2 separate regions of the Homo sapiens genome follow, and region 1 is linked to region 2. Evidence: promoter capture Hi-C in 16 types of primary human blood cells and fetal thymus (Javierre and others, 2016). All regions are on one chromosome and are shown on one strand. The core of a region is centred on a gene start or on the middle of the fragment in contact, and the rest is flanking DNA. Distances in the headings are between cores, read along the strand shown.

Evidence for each region. The method cuts DNA at HindIII sites, captures the fragments that hold promoters and counts their contacts. A CHiCAGO score of 5 or more calls a contact.
Region 1: a contact is called between a fragment that was not itself captured here and the fragment with the promoter of TAS2R5 in region 2, in 1 of 17 cell types (monocytes). The highest score is 5.3, in monocytes.

The regions. Positions count from the first base shown.
Region 1 is chr7:142,008,387-142,012,964 of GRCh38, forward strand. It overlaps MGAM (maltase-glucoamylase), which reads left to right. Exons shown (of 71, transcript NM_001365693.1): 3 at 120-319. Among named protein-coding and RNA genes, the nearest start is that of MGAM, 15 kb to the left of the region's middle. The HindIII fragment of the contact is 801 bases long and covers 2,021-2,821 here.
Region 2 is chr7:141,786,987-141,791,586 of GRCh38, forward strand. It overlaps TAS2R5 (taste 2 receptor member 5), which reads left to right and starts at 3,231. Exons shown (of 1, transcript NM_018980.3): 1 at 3,231-4,381. The coding sequence starts at 3,376. The coding sequence ends at 4,275. It also overlaps the pseudogene TAS2R6P. The HindIII fragment of the contact is 7,447 bases long and covers 1-3,573 here.

The DNA of each region.
Region 1 (4,578 bases), core at 1,171-3,670, 220 kb after region 2:
TTGAGGTCATCAGAGTGAAGCCTACTCAGTAGTGGAGTTAATTGGAGGTGTTGAGAACTATTGAATGTCTGTGAAATTAAATTTGTCTAATGGTCTTTTTATGTTTGCTTTTGGTATAGCCCCAGATCCTGGGACAACTGGTACCCCAGATCCTGGGACAACTGGTACCCCAGATCCTGGAACAACTGGTACCACACATGCTAGGACAACGGGTCCCCCAGATCCTGGAACAACTGGTACCACTCCTGTTTCTGCTGAATGTCCAGTGGTAAATGAATTGGAACGAATTAATTGCATCCCTGACCAGCCGCCAACAAAGGTTTGAGTTATGAATTTTGTTTCCATTTTAGAATTTATGCAACTTGATAGTTTATTTTTTTTTGTTGTTTTGTTTTGGTTTTCTTTATTAGTGACTCTCAAGAGAGGTGTTTATGTTGCAGCCATTAGTGGCTCAGGCAAATTAACCTGTGTCCATGCTTGTATGACAGTGCAGCTTCAGGAAAGGAAGACCTGGAAAATTCCCTTGGGTTGCCAGATTCAGCAAATAAAAGTGCGGTTGCCCAGCCAAATTCAAATTTCAGAAAAACAATGAATAAGCTTTTAGTATAAGTGTGTCCCGTGAAAGATTTTGGGCTTACTTACTAAAAACGTATTTGTCTTTTATATGGCAACACTACATGATTACTAGTTCTTTCTGACTCTGTTCATGCCCTGTATGTCTCTCCTCCTTTCAGAATTTCCAAAGCTCATCTAGAATCTGCAGTAAAAATTCACAAAACATTATTTAAAATAAGGGCAAAGTTTCAAGAGCTCTGTTTTGGAAGGAAGAAGGTAATGAATACCAGATTAAAGACAGTGCAGACATCTGGGCATTTACCTTAGCCCAGTGTTTCTAGATTATCGGCTGAAGTCCACCTGATTATGATGATTATAAAGTACTTGCCCACACCCTATGTTTGATGTGCCAAATTTACAGAAAGTTGATGCACATGCATTTACTTTCCCTGTCATATTGTGCAAGTTACTCAATAGCTCAATTGAGCTGTACTCAATAGCTCACTCAAGCTGTACTCAATAGCTCACTCATTACTTGGAAGCTCACCTAGATTATCACATTCTCAGTATGTCACACTACTGCAACACTCCATCTTGTCACTGGGTATTGGTGCACTTCAGATACAGCCATAGTAATGTTTCTTTGGTGCTTTATTGTAAGATCTTTTGATAAATACTGTGGTATCAAGATTGAAGTTCAATAAATGAACTTTGGCTTTTCTACATGTCATATCTAACTGAATTACTCCACGGCCTTGGCGTTTATTAATTGGCATTCTCCTTTTTTGCTCAGCCAGAGAGAAATACTGGCACTTTCAATGATTCATTTTCTTGTAGAAGATACATCTTAGAACTTTTGTTGTATGTTTTCTGAATCCTGAGAGCGGTATGCTGATCCAGATTGTTGTTGAGAGCTGAGGCTATGGATAATGATGTGTTTGTATGGTGTTCACATTAAAGGGAATGTAGCTGAAAGAGGATGGTGGGAAGAAGTTATGAACACAACAGATAGGCTAGGCAGAATGTTCTGGTGTCGAAACCATTGCTATATAATTTTATCATTCTTATCATCTGTCCTCCAAGATTATATGTAAAAGAACTAAAAGAATAACTTTCTCTGCAGATGATTCTTGGTTGTAAATACCATTGTTTGATTCTCCCAGTTATGAGAGGGAATCCTTTTCCAGTACAGGAGGAAGTACTGTATCAAGCCACCCTGACACCCTGAGTACTCTTGGGAGACTCTTCTTTGGAGAGAATGGACTCTAGGAGTCCCCTTCATGGATCTTAGAAAAAAAGATCACTCGATTATCTAACTCTAGTTCGGATCTTTAGTTCTGGGCTTGAAGCTGGTTGGAGGGCATCTTCACTGAATTCCTTCCTATCATATCAGCTGAACTCGTTACCTCCTCACCAAATCTGCTTTTCCTTCTCAGCTACCAGATTTCTGCTAGTAGTTCTATTAAGCTTCTAGTTCTTGAGACAGAAACAGCAGAACTTCTGCTTGGCTCATCCCTTCTATCCCTTTGGCCAGTATTCCATGTATTTTAAAATATTTTCCTTAACAATAATTTCCAGAAGAGGCATTTCATTTCCATTCTTGCAGCCATCCCTAGATCATCATTTCCTCATGCTTGGGTTGCTCCAGGTGCCCCTTGGCATCCCTTCTGAATTCCATTTCTCCTATCCATTCCGTTACATGTGGGATTAGAATTTCTCTTTTTTACATCCAACTTTTGTTATTATTTCTACCCAACTTCAGTACATATAGTGGTTTATTACTGTACGTTGAGCCAAGTTCAAACACTGTCTTCTATCATCTAAGACCCTACCTCTGTGCCTCTATAGGTTCACTTAGGCTATACTTCTATGCAGATTTTAAAGACAACTGTCTACACTTATTCCAAACCTTTGAATTCTAAAATCCTTTCCACTTTCTTGATGAAGTCTTTTATCCCCAATTCCAGAACGCAGAGTTGAAAGATCCCATTGATGGCAGGGAGCAGGAATATTTCATCAAATTCCAGATATCCAGCTTAGGAAAGAAATGATAGTTAATACTTTTAAATCCTTTGATTTTTCAGGGCTATAAAGCACTGTGTAAACATGGGAGGGCAGGTTACGTGCTTAAAGATAAACCCGCATGCCCTAAGTAAATGTTGCAGAGTAATTAAGCTGAGAGAAATTCACAGTTGATTTCCAAGGATAACAATAACATAAGTGGTAATCTCAATAATTTGAGAGGTTACCATATTTCTTAAACAGAAGCTTTGTCATCTTTTACAGCGAACACACTTGGTAATTGTCTATGTATTACTCATTTATTTGGCTTATGATATCCTTTTCCAAATTCCAGTTTATTATCAATATGTTGGGGATCATGTTTTATGATATAGCAGCAAGGGTATTGCATTTTGCCAAGATCATTGTGAGTCTTCACCTTTAAATTACTCTGTGTTTACACAACATCAGTTAATAGCCATTATATGGTGCTAGGAAGAGCAGTGAGCCCAGATAAAAACTTAAAGTCTTAAAAGACTTAAGTTTATGTTTGGCACCTTGAAATGATAATGTAGCCATTGGTCAAGTGAAAGGATGTAAGGGGAGCCAGGTTATTGAGTTACTCAGTCCTGGCTTTGCTTCTGGAAAGCTCTTTGACTTGATCAGTAAGTCACATTTTCTTATAAACTGTGAAATCCTTCTAAGTAAAATGAGACAGTATGTGTTCAGCTAAACATACTCATTAAACGTTCGATTAAATGACTATTGAACACTATACTAACCTCAAAATATTTTAGAATAGTGATCTCTAAGGTTCTGGCAAATGTTTCTCTGAATATTCACCACAGTCTGATTTGGGGGACTAGAAAGACTGGATTATGGGAATGGCAGAGGTGGCAACTTTGTTTTAAAAAGTCTTTGCTGTTAGACTTCACTTTGAGGTTAAATGAAGTGGCCAGCCTAACAAGCTAAATTTCAAAACCTGACTCAAGATGCACATATTATAAAATAGCCTACATTTAAGATATTTCACAGAGTCGAGACTAATTTTATTCATTCGTTAGTTCAAACTTGCTGCACATAAAAACAGCTAGAGAACATTTTGATGAATAGAGGGTGATTTGAAATTCCTTTATCATCAAGTGCTTTCAACTTCTAAAATTCCTGCTCTATTTGAAGATGGGATACTTTGTCTCATTCTACTCATTTTCTTCATGTGGAGACTTTCTGGTTCCACCTTTTTTGTTCACAACATCAGGTTCTTTTGTGCTGCTATAACATAATGCCCAAGACTGAGTAATTTATCAAACACAGAAATTTACTTATCATAGTTATGGATGGAGACTAGAAAGAACAAGACCAAGGTGCTGGCATCTTGTGAGGACCTTCTTGCTGCATCCTCACATGGCAGCACGTAGACAGCAAGAGACAGCCCACTGTCTCCTTTATAAGGGCACCTAATTCCCTTTGTCTGGGAGGAGGCTTCATGGCCTAATCACCTCTTAAAGGCCCCACTGTTAATACTAACATACTGGCAACACGTGAATTTTGGAGGGGGCACATTCCAGCCAAAGCACCAGTCTAACTGAAATTGCTCTAAGTCTTCTATTTTCTTAGACTTCTGTTTTCTTAGGGCAAGCTTCTCCATTTGTCTACTGAATTACAAACTATCCAAACTTAGTGGTTTGCAGCAACAATTGTTTTATTATATGTAGTGATTTTGTAAGTCAGAGATTCTGCCAGGGTTTGGCTGAATGGTTCTGTTCCACATAGCATTTACTGGGATTACATGATATGGTGGTATTTAGTTGGTGGCTGATCTTGTCTGGAGGTTTCAAGATGACTTTACTCACATACCTGGTACCTTGGTGAAAATGGTGGTAAGACTGACTGCACCCTCTTCCCCTCCATGTAGTCACGGAGTCTCTCTTGGTACTCTCTCCAGCAGGGTAGCTGAACTTCTTACATGGTGGCTCAGTGCTGCAAGAGACAGAGGCAAAAGCTTCCAGTTCTCTTAAATAC
Region 2 (4,600 bases), core at 1,981-4,480:
AGTGGACTGGCACATAGTAGTCATTAATAAATATTGGTTAAATAATTGATAAATGTCATGCTTTCCCTTTTTTTTTTTTTTTTTTTTTTTTTGAGACGGAGTCTCTCTCTGTTGCCCAGACTAGAGTGCAATGGCATGATCTCGGCTCACTGCAATCTCCACCTCTCGGGTTCAAGTGATTCTCCTGCCTCAGCCTCCTGAGTAGCTGGGACTACAGGTGTGTGCCACCATGCCCGGCTAATTTTTGTATTTTCAGTAGAGATGGGGTTTCACCATGTTGGCCAGGCTGGTCTCGAATTTCTAACCTCAAGTGATCCACCCGCCTCGGCCTCCCGAAGTGCTGGGATTATAGGCGTGAGCCACCGCGCCCGGCCCATGCTTTCCCTTTTTATAACATGAGGTACCTTGCATTTGCCACTGTTAAATTCTCAGACTGTCTTACTTAGGTTTTGTGGAGTTAGGTCGGGTGGAAGTAGGATTTCAGGAGACTGTGCTCTAGGCTGTCTGGATTTTAGTTCTTTCCTTCGGAAGGCCATTCTGTAATTGTGTCTCTGTACCTAATGTCAGATCCCAGGCCAGTGTCAGGTAGATGTAAGTGACGGTGGGACCGTTACCTTCAAGAACGTTTCTTCTGGTCACAGCTGTAACATCTTTACCAGAGAAGGGATTTCAGACAGTAACAAAACTGAGTGGTGAGAAGTGAAATGCTCTGCCATAATACTGATACCGTCCCCAGGGATTCTGACACAGCCAGCAGCAGTACGTGTTCATCAGCACTGAAGCAGGGCACCTCCTGATTCAGCAGAGAGACCCTCCCCTCCCCAGCCATGTTGGCGGCTGCCCTAGGATTGCTGATGCCCATTGCAGGGGCTGAATTTCTCATTGGCCTGGTTGGAAATGGAGTCCCTGTGGTCTGCAGTTTTAGAGGATGGGTCAAAAAAATGTAAGGAGTCCCTATAAATTCTCATGATTCTGGTAAGTAGCCACTTTCTCCTACTCAGGCCGATCATGTTGGACATAAGTCTGTTTCCACTTTCCCAGAGCAGTGGTTGGCTTTACTATCTTAATGTCTTCGAGTCCTGGTAAGCCAGGCCAACATGTAGTTTGCCACTTTCTTCAGTGGCTTCTGCTGCATGGAGATCATGACCTTTGTCCCGCTGACTTCTTGTAGCTGAAAAGACTGGGTTTTTGTTTTTTGCTAGTGTCTTTCAAGATCACTTTTTATTTCTCAGCTCTTGTTGGCTGGACCCTTTAAAAACCCTTAACAGGAAACAGCAACATCCTGCATCCCATTTTAAATCTGTTATTTTTATAGATTGCTGTCCAGTGAAGGAGACTGATTGCTATTTGTGATGTTTCTGTTCCACTTGTCTTTTTGTAAAGACATCACAGGAAGATGGAGGACCACACAGCTGTCAGGAGGAGGCTCAAACCAAGGTGCTCATCGCTCTGAACTTCCCCCTTTACATGGTTTCTGCCTTGGCCAGACACTTTTCCATGACCTTCTAATCTCCCTCTGATCTCACCATTCTTGCCATCTCTGCAACACTCATGGCTGTTTATACTTCATTTCCGTCTATTGTAATGGTTATGAGGAATCAGACTTGTCAGAGAATTCTGTAGGAGATGATATGTACATGGAAATCCTAGAGGCCATGACTTGGAAGAAGGATCTAATCAGGCCCTTAACTGTATCACTGACAACAGTAAAAATAACTGTAGATTTTAGAAAAATGAAATTTTTATTCTCAATTCTCCTCATTTCTTCTTTGATTTTGAAACAAAATGAAAGGGTAACATGAAAAACAGGCTAGAAACTGGAGCTTATTGCTCTCTAAGCAATGCAAATCACATCATTTTAATAAACTACAGAAGTCAAAACCGAGTTTTCATATTTTGCATGGGAAGTATCACATTTTTAAAAATTACTGCAGATAATCAAGTTTTCTTTGCCAATATGCTATGTTTTTGATAAAAGGAAGTAGAAAATAGCTATAGTTTGAAAATAATATATTTTAAAAAGAGGTGAGCCTGTATATTTTTTAGGCAAGCACTTTTCTTAGGGGAATTAGCTAAATTATTATCTCAATTTTCTATGTAGTTTAGCCTCTCAACACCGGTAGTAAAGTAGTCAAAAACCTACCTTTATATTTCTGGATACTTTGGTTTTTTTGATGCCAGACTAGCTTTCTGGAAACGTGTCAGTTGGCTACCAGGATCGGTGGCAAATTCCACTGCCAGGCTAGATTGGGGCAGGTGGGGAGAGAGAGGCACTATGTCTCTATCAGAAAGTCACTGAAGAAACACTGTTTTTGGACGAGTTCAAGCCTCATCTAGATTTTTAGTCCAGTAGAAGATCGCGACCACCTCTGCCCCTCCATAGCCTACAGCCAGAGTTTTAGAGTACCAGGCCTTGCAGCTTGGTGGAGATGATGTACAATGGATGCTACCTGGAGGCAGGGACTGTGTATTATAATGGCGCCGTCCCCTGTGCCTAGTACACCGTAGTTTGACACAAAATAAGCACTTTGTAAATTTAGTCCGAAGGAATGGAAATCTCATCCTACAATCCATTCAGTTATTAATAGAGCAACTGAGGCCCAGAGACGGGCAGTGGCCTGCCTGCCTACAGCTTCGTAGAGAGTTCTCAGCATGCTTACTTTTTTTTTTTGAGATGGAGTCTTGCTCTGTCGCCCAGGCTGGAGTGCAGTGGCGCGATCTTGGCCCACTGCAGCTTCCATCTCCTGGGTTCAAGTGGTTCTCCTGCCTCAGCCTCCCGAGTAGCTGGGACTACAGGCAGCCACCACCACGCCCAGATAATTTTTGTATTTTTAGTAGAGATGGGGCTTCACCATGTTGGCCAGGGTGGTCTCGAACTCCTGGCTTCAGGTGATCCACCCGCCTTGGCCTCTCAAAGTGTTGGGATTACAGGTGTGAGCCACCATGCCTGGCCCAGTGTTCTTTTCATGAAAATAAAATTTCTTTTTTTATATAGCATATGAGCTCATAACTGGCACTGTATAGCACCTGAGCATGTTTTGATTTGGTCTTTCTTGTTGAGGGGCCTTGTTACGTTATACCCTGGTGTCTAGACTTTGGCCCAAAACCTTTGAGATGGAGAGCCGGTGTCTGTGGTACTGTTTGCAATCTCTGGTTCTACACTCAGGGTTCATTCATGTAGATGCAAATACAGATGGTATCATAACTTCCAACCTCTCTGTTCCTCATCACAGCTGTTCAGTCTCGCTTGAAGACAGATTACGGAAGGACGAGGCCAAATCCAGATTTTGTGGTGTGAAAATTTACCCTGGTGTGTTATCACTACCAGGGGATCTGACCTCAGCCAGGAGCAGTGAGAGCCTCCTCTCCCCAGCCATGCTGAGCGCTGGCCTAGGACTGCTGATGCTGGTGGCAGTGGTTGAATTTCTCATCGGTTTAATTGGAAATGGAAGCCTGGTGGTCTGGAGTTTTAGAGAATGGATCAGAAAATTCAACTGGTCCTCATATAACCTCATTATCCTGGGCCTGGCTGGCTGCCGATTTCTCCTGCAGTGGCTGATCATTTTGGACTTAAGCTTGTTTCCACTTTTCCAGAGCAGCCGTTGGCTTCGCTATCTTAGTATCTTCTGGGTCCTGGTAAGCCAGGCCAGCTTATGGTTTGCCACCTTCCTCAGTGTCTTCTATTGCAAGAAGATCACGACCTTCGATCGCCCGGCCTACTTGTGGCTGAAGCAGAGGGCCTATAACCTGAGTCTCTGGTGCCTTCTGGGCTACTTTATAATCAATTTGTTACTTACAGTCCAAATTGGCTTAACATTCTATCATCCTCCCCAAGGAAACAGCAGCATTCGGTATCCCTTTGAAAGCTGGCAGTACCTGTATGCATTTCAGCTCAATTCAGGAAGTTATTTGCCTTTAGTGGTGTTTCTTGTTTCCTCTGGGATGCTGATTGTCTCTTTGTATACACACCACAAGAAGATGAAGGTCCATTCAGCTGGTAGGAGGGATGTCCGGGCCAAGGCTCACATCACTGCGCTGAAGTCCTTGGGCTGCTTCCTCTTACTTCACCTGGTTTATATCATGGCCAGCCCCTTCTCCATCACCTCCAAGACTTATCCTCCTGATCTCACCAGTGTCTTCATCTGGGAGACACTCATGGCAGCCTATCCTTCTCTTCATTCTCTCATATTGATCATGGGGATTCCTAGGGTGAAGCAGACTTGTCAGAAGATCCTGTGGAAGACAGTGTGTGCTCGGAGATGCTGGGGCCCATGATCTGGGAAGAAAAGTGTGGTCAGGACACTCTTGGGACGCTCTTTTGATAGCTCTCTATAAGGGAGCTGCTTTCCATGTCTTTTAAGATTTTCCTTCTTTTACACCAATGTAATGAATGAGCAACAGAAAATACGGATCAAAACCCAATACTATGTCTCTTTTGGCAATGCAAAGTATATTTTTTTAATGTACCACAGAAATCAAGGCTAGGGCTTCATGTTTGGTAAAAGAGGTATTATATTCTCTCTACATATAGCAAATAATTCATATATAAATCGTGTTTTTCCTATTATAAAAAGCAGAGATTAGGAACAATTCTGTCTAC